2 separate regions of the Homo sapiens genome follow, and region 2 is linked to region 1. Evidence: promoter capture Hi-C in human tissues and cell types (Jung and others, 2019). All regions are on one chromosome and are shown on one strand. Each heading gives the region's core, a stretch centred on a gene start or on the middle of the fragment in contact. The rest is flanking DNA. Distances are from core to core; before and after follow the strand shown.

Region 1 (3,681 bases), core at 181-2,680:
CAATTCAATTGTGGAATCTTATGGCTTTGTTTTTACTTTGGGTAGAAGTTTAACTTCCATTGTTCAGATTTTAGGTTTATCTAGTGAAATTGTGCCAGGTAGTTGTCTAAATATGGACCAATTTTGGGAAATGAAGATTAATAAGTGTATATTTGATTCTAGATAATCCTTTACTCAAAATCATAAGTTAAAGATTCACATCATTAAGAGTTATCTAACTTTTATGTTGTCAAATCTTTAAATGTGGATGATATTCAGCATTCTATCTATGAATTTCCTTTAGGAAAAGAGAAAAATTCAGTCTCCAAACCTTTTCTTGGAGACAAAATTTACCACATATCGAAAATGAAAAAAATTTAGAAAGCGATTTGATTATTTTTTAATGGAGTTTAACCAGCTTAATTAATGATTTTTCCAGTTTGAAGCACTTATTTTCCCAATGTGAATAAAGGGAAAAGATCAGCAATTTGTCCCTGGCCTTTTTCGAGGCCATTTTTAGTTTTCTGCCCCCATTTCCCAGTCCTGGTATAAAATGAATTACGGGTATCCCTCTAAGTCCCTATAACCCTTTTTGGGGGTCACAGATATCTTTGATAATCTGATGACAGTGTGATGGATCCTCTACCCAAGAAAAAAAAAATGCCCATCCCTGGATAATTTTGCATACAACTTCAGGGGCATCACACATCTTCTGAAACCCAAGTTAAAGATCTCTGCTCTAAGTAAATTGTAGAGAATTTTAGTGCAAATCGTTGATAAAATTAGGAACCAACTATTGGCTTAAAACCTTTCATATTGGAATTATTGTTAGATGGTGGCCCCTACTAGCAAAATGTGACATTGCAACCAGCTTCGTTAGACATTATAACAACCAGAGAGAAGGGAAAAAAGCAAAGTTCTGAAAGCTATTTATAAGGAGTCAGGGCATCTCTAGACATGGGAGCCTTCCTGGTTCAAGGCAGGGGTCAGGGTGCCTGACAATTTCTAGCAGGGTAGAGTTTGATAAACCACAATGCTCAGGATGCCAAGGGGTTAGCCATTATCTTAACCCCTTCCTCACCAAAAGATTTTAGTTTTGTCTGTTGGGAAACAAGATGTCACTAGGGAAAAAAAGATTTGCCTTACAACTTTGCTGGAACACATCAGTTTGGTGACGTTGGGACACTAGTGTTATTTTTGAGAAGGCGCATAAAACCAAAGTAAATTATTCTCTATGTAGAACATTTATTTACTAGTAACATTTGTTTGCGTGTATTCGCTTTGACAATTTTTACCAGTAAATATTGGTTTTATTTAAAACTGGGAATCCAGTTGATATATAGGATAGTTGATACATCTGTTCTTTCCCCCATGTAAAGCATAGTTAAAAGATTTATGCATACTTTTTACTTTTCTCTCTTAATGCCATGGGGTGGGGAGGGTGGGTGGGGGAAAGATTTTTGAGTCTACAACTGACAAAATGTCTTCTTCAAATTAAAAAAAATTGAGAAGCAGCACTTTAAGTCTAACTCTACACCATTTTATTGCATGTATTAGTTTTATTAATGATTTTTGGTGCATGCCTTTGGGCTTATTCAAAAGTGTACAATAGGAAAGTATATTTCCTTTCTTAGAAAGGAGATGTTTTCTACTTTGCAACATGTGATTACAAAAATCTTCCTCTGTGGGAAGATTAACCATGTATTGAACTACTGAAAAGTATATATTTTTAGATATACAGAAGGAATCTACATGGAGCAGCATTCAGACCTATATAGAAGTCATAGCATTCTGTATAGGACCAAAAAGGAAATAACATTAAACACTTAAACAGACGTTGTTGGGTAGAAATACCTTTAGATCTTGCATTTACTTCCAAAAAGAAAAAATGCCACAGAAGTTTGCTGAAAACTTTTGTCGTTTGAATTTTCTCTGTCAGTGTATTTAGCCCAAATACAACAGCTTTGGGTTAGCACACACATAAGAATCAAAAAAACAAAGCTCACTAAATAAATCAGTCTGGTTTGCCAATCCAGCTTGACTGAAATAAGTAAACCAATCACTTGCAACATGAAAAACTGTCCAACTCCTCTAAGGTTCTGACAAAATAACCTTGGCTGATGTGGGAAGACTCCCACTTTGATTACTGACCTGACAGTGAAGATTCATGCTTGACATGATTTCAGACTTGACAATGTCTGTTTAAGGAGCTATGGTACAGTTTGCTAATTCAATCCCAGATACCTGTTGATTACCTGTGAGATCTAGAGTCCAAAGTAGCCAGCAGCCATATCCCTGAGTGCTCTGTGCCCATCAGATATCTTAAAGTAAGCAGGGTTGGGACAGGTCACAGCTTGGATGATTGACCTCAGGTGCCGTAGACAGCCCCAGATTCAAGAATTGTATCTGCTTTCTTGGCAGTCGTCACTGAACTAATGTCCCATACTGTGTTACTTACTGTAGATGCTCTCTTTTAGAGGAGGCCCAGAGCACACATCCTAATCGCTAGCGGTACTCAGAGAGGGGGTGCTAACTCTGATGCCCTGGCCAAATTCCAGTTTAGGGATGTGGGTCTTCTTCTTGTCATTCTAATTGGAAATGTGCATCACTTCCCATTTTTCTTACTGATCTCAGTGCAAACTACACTAGTCTGTTTCTTTGCCCTGGTCTCAAGTCTCTAAGACGCTGGTGTGTATTATGTGGGCTAAGTTCATGTGTTATCCTAAGGCACAAGAGTTGAGGAATGGGTGAGCTTGGTGTCAGAGCACTGTGTGGTTGGAGGGTGGACTCTTGTGATGCTGTGGGGATGAAATTGGCCCTCTTTTAGCATAAGTTGGGGAGTGTGCACTGGCTGGAGGCTTCCAGAGGCTTCCAGCCATGAGGTGTGAGCTGAAACCAATTTTTCCTCTTTCCTTATAGCATGTTGAGAAAATCTGTTGGGTTTTCAGCAGTCAGGGAAGGCCGGAGTTCTGCTTTAATCTGGGTAACTGAGGCTAATATGAGCAAGACTTTGGTTAATTAACTGGGTTCTCAGATGCCACAGACTCCGTGAGAAGTCACCATTATTTTCAATGGTTGTGATAGAATTTCCCCCAGTAGCCATTATTTTAAGATTATATTGCAGAGTTGCTTTATTTTGAGCTTTTTGTGTATACACAATCCCAAACTGGAAGAAATTTTAAAAAAAGGAATCCTGCTGTGAAAGGTATATATTACTCTAGATTTTTCTTACTGTAAATATTGTAAGATTGTAATACTGTCGATATTTTATTAACCAACAAATGTTAATCTATGTGAAATCAGACTTATTTTAAATGTGCTTCTTATTTACTGTGTGTGGTCCCTGTTGCTGACAGTATTAAGTTATATTCTGATGTAAGATTAACTTTATTAAAGAATGTAAACATTAATGTTTCCTTATGGGAAAACAAATAAAGTATAAAGAAGACAATTCTTTTCATTGAAATATACTGTGTATTTACACTTGCTAGACCCAGCACCACTTATAAATTTAGTACACTGTTCAGAATTTTAGTTAACACAGCTGACATGGTTGTGCTCTGTTTGAAAGTCTAAGAATAGGTATTGTTGGAATATACAGTTTGTATTTGTCTGCTGTGAATCATAATCTTGAAATTTCTAATCAAGTTTGTAAAATTTTTATAGTGAAACATTTTAATGACAATTTAAAAATTTATCTTC
Region 2 (3,683 bases), core at 342-2,841, 560 kb before region 1:
TGGGTTCAAGCGATTCTCCTGCCTCAGCCTCCGGAGTAGCTGGGATTACAGGCACTCCGCCGCCATGCCCAGCTAATTTTTGTATTTTTAGTAGAGACGGGATTTCACCATGTTGGCCAGGCTGGTCTTGAACTCCTGACCTCAAGTGTTCTGCCACCTTGGCCTCCCAAAGTGCTGGGATTGCAGATGTGAGCCACGTCATCTGGCCTGGCCTGAACTTTTAGAATTCAATATTAACCATTTTCCCCTAGTTTATTCCCTAGAGCTCTTCACAAAGTATGGCTTGACTTCTCTGAGACAGCTAGTGATAAGAAAAATGAAGTTTATTTTGGTATACCACTCAAAAAGATTGTGAAAACAAAATGGAGATTAATTTTTTTTTTCCAAACTCTTTGTACCACAATTTTAAGTTGAATAGCTGACTTCCTAGGCATGGATAAGATCAGTTCTATCTTATCTTCTGTCCTAGTAATGTGTCTGCAGTGGAATCCCCATTGCTTGGCTTCTATAATTGATCTTGAACCTTCCCAATTATCATTCCCTGAAAAAATAATTCTACTTAAATACCTTCTTGACTTAAATGTCATGAGTTGCTACATCTGGGTTCTGATAAGATTTTTCTAAGAAAAACTACATTTGACATGTGACATCTTCAGGAATTCAATATCTTGTTTCTTTGACAGAGGGACGCTATTCATGTCTGTGAATTTGGCAGTCTTTGAAATGCCATGTCTTTTTTGGAAAAAGCTTTTGATGGACTTTATTTTGATATACATCTTAAGGTCCCCTGACCTATACTATAAGCAGAGCATAGCAAAGAGGGTCATTATGAACATTGTGTGTAGTTCTGGGCAGGGCTTGGGATCCTTTGGGATTGTTGGTATCTACACCACATGGCCCCACCCTGCTATGTTTTAAGGTTTTCTGCTGACTTTTTAGGTCTTCAGCCTTGATTTTGATGCTTTGAGTGCCTGCCTCTAGCAGCACCACCCCCAGCCCTTTTCCAGTTGGCTGCATCTCATCTGTTGTGGGCTAAGAAACCAGATCACAGAGCTTATTAAAATTGTGTCTAAAATAAGATCCAGTAGGCTCTTGACTGAAGAGGGCTTCATGTGCTCTGTGAACTGTGTGGTTTCCTTGGCTGATCGGAGACCTTTCTGACTTGCTTCCTGTTTTTCTTCTTTACTTTTGCTATACAGATGTAGGAGGCTTTTTGGTGCTCTTAGAGTGCTGTAATGTTGAAGTATTTGGTTAATTTCTCTATTCTTGGGAAGGGTAAAAGGCTAAATAAATATCTTGATTCTTTGAGGAGTTGAAGACTGACCAGAGTTGGATACTAAAAGCTTTTCTTAACAGTAATAGTGCATTGTACATTTTAATGGTGTCCTACTAGTTGCAGATAACGTTTGGCATACATAGCTTTCAAACAAAGTAATGCCAGGATTATCACTTGATCTATTTCTGTGATAGAGATTTTTTTTCTTTCTTTTTTTTTTTTTTTGAGGCAGTCTTGCTCAGGCTGGAGTGCAGTGTCATGATCTTGGCTCACTACAAACTCTGGCTCCCAGGGTCAAGCAGTTCTCTTGCCTCAGACTCCCAAGTAGCTGGGATTACAGGCACTCACCACCATGCCCAGCTAATTTTTGTATTTTTAATAGAGACAGGGTTTCTCCCTGTTGGCCAGGCTGGTCTTGAACTCCTGACGTCAGGAGATCCGTCCGTCTCGGCCTCCCAAAGTGTTGGGATTACAGGTGTAAGCCACTGTGCCCGGCCTATGGCTAGCTTCTTTTAAGGCGTCTCAAGACAAAGTTCTCAATGAAATAAAGATTTCAGGTCATGCACAGTGGGTCATGCACAGTGGGTCACGCCTGTAATCCCAGCACTTTGGGAGGCCCAGGTGGGCAGATCGCTTGAGCTCAGGAGTTCGAGACCAGCCTGAGCAACATGACGAAACATGGTCTTTACAAAAAATACAAAAAATTAGCTGGGTATGGTGGTGGATGGCTGTAGTCCCAGCTAGGTGGGAGGCTGAGGTGGGAGGATCTCGGGAGCCTGGGAGGTAGAGGCTGCAGTGAACCGTGATCAAGCCGCTACACTCCAGCCTATGCAACAGAGTGAGACCCTGTCTCAAACAAACAAACAAACAAAAAGATTTCAAACTCTGATGTCTATAAAAGCCAGGCAGGTACCAAAGTGAGCAGAGAGAACTTGAGGGAGCTAGAAAATGCATGTGCTATCAGATGAGGGCAACTGCTAACCAGCTCCCTGCAAATGTTGCTATTGCTAAAATCTGTGGGCCCAGTGTTGCAATATCTTCCATTCAAAAAAAAAAGAGAAGCCACAAATCCAGATTTTTTGGCAACCGATTCAACTTAAAAAAAAAAAGAACAACAAAATACGCATTTTTGGTCGACATCAGTTTAGTATGTGGATTAAAGTAACCAGGGATTGGGGTTCATTAAGTAATCAGGAGTGTAAAAAGATTAAGTCATTTAAACAATACTTTCTGTATTTTTAAAAGTTTGAAAGTAATGCTTTATGTAAGATTAAGTTTTCTTGTTTGTTTGTTTTTGAGATGGAGTCTTGCTCTGTCGCCCAGGCTGGAGTGCAGTGGCATGATCTCGGCTCACTGCAACCTCCGCCTCCCAGGTTCAAGCAATTCTCCTGCGTCAGCCTCCCGAGCAGCTGAGACTACAAGCTCGCACCACCACGCCCAGCTAATTTTTGTATTTTTGGTAGAGACGGGGTTTCACCATATTGGCCAGGCTGGTCTCGAACTCCTGACCTTGTGATCCACCTGCTTCGGCCTCCCAAAGTGCTGGGAATACAAGCATGAGACACCGTGCCCGGCCTTAAGTAGTTTTTAAATACAATTCTAATTAACTTGCTTTTTTTTTTTGAGACCTCAGGTGATTTGCCCGCCTTGGCCTCCCAGAGTGCTGGGATTACAGGGATGAGCCACTGCACCCAGCCAATTTGCTAAGTTTTTTTTTTTTTTTTTTTTTTGAGATAGAGTCTCGCTCTGTTGCCCAGGCTGGAGTGCAGTGGCACAATCTCGGCTCACTGCAAGCTCTGCCTCCTGGGTTCACGCCATTCTCCTGCCTCAGTCTCCCGAGTAGCTGGGACTACAGGCATGCACCCCCATGCCCAGCTACTTTTTGTATTTTCAGTAGAGACGGGGTTTCACCATGTTGGCCAAGCTGGTCTCAAACTCCTGACCTCCAGTGATCCACCCGCCTCGACCTCCCAAAGTGCTGGGATTACAGGCGTGAGCCACTGTGCCCCGCCTTTTGTATGGTTTTGTGTGAGGTCTTGGGAAAACCAGTTTTGTAAATACATTGATCCCGTAGAAGTTTATGTATTACTCTTCCATTATGATCTGTTTCATGTTTTGAGTTTCTCTGTAGACTGACAATACACTTTGAAAATGTCTGAGATTGGGAAGTTACCGAAGCATGATCTTAAAGAAAGTAGTTGTAACGCTGAACAGTACTGTATTTTAAAAAATTGCTTAGGCTGGGTGCGGTGGCTTATGCCTGTAATCCCCCAGTACTTTGGGAGGCTGAGGCGGGCCGACCACCTGAGGTCAGGAGTTCGAGACCAGCCTGCCCAATATGGTGAAACCCTGTCTCTACTAAAAATACAAAAATTAGCCAGGTGTGGTGGCACTCACCTGTAATCCC

Evidence for each region. The method cuts DNA at HindIII sites, captures the fragments that hold promoters and counts their contacts. A contact is called where the count stands out against the background at its distance.
Region 2: a contact is called between a fragment that was not itself captured here and the fragment with the promoter of IGIP in region 1, in 1 of the 25 tissues and cell types used here (hippocampus).

Annotation. Positions count from the first base shown.
Region 1 is chr5:140,124,507-140,128,187 of GRCh38, forward strand. It overlaps IGIP (IgA inducing protein), which reads left to right and starts at 1,431. Exons shown (of 1, transcript NM_001007189.2): 1 at 1,431-3,681. It overlaps PURA (purine rich element binding protein A), which reads left to right. Exons shown (of 1, transcript NM_005859.5): 1 at 1-1,113. The HindIII fragment of the contact is 10,247 bases long and covers 1-3,681 here.
Region 2 is chr5:139,564,546-139,568,228 of GRCh38, forward strand. The region is part of intron 1 of UBE2D2 (ubiquitin conjugating enzyme E2 D2); the gene reads left to right. Among named protein-coding and RNA genes, the nearest start is that of UBE2D2, 5.0 kb to the left of the region's middle. RefSeq lists enhancers at 760-859, 1,050-1,189, 3,453-3,683. The HindIII fragment of the contact is 5,297 bases long and covers 1-3,683 here.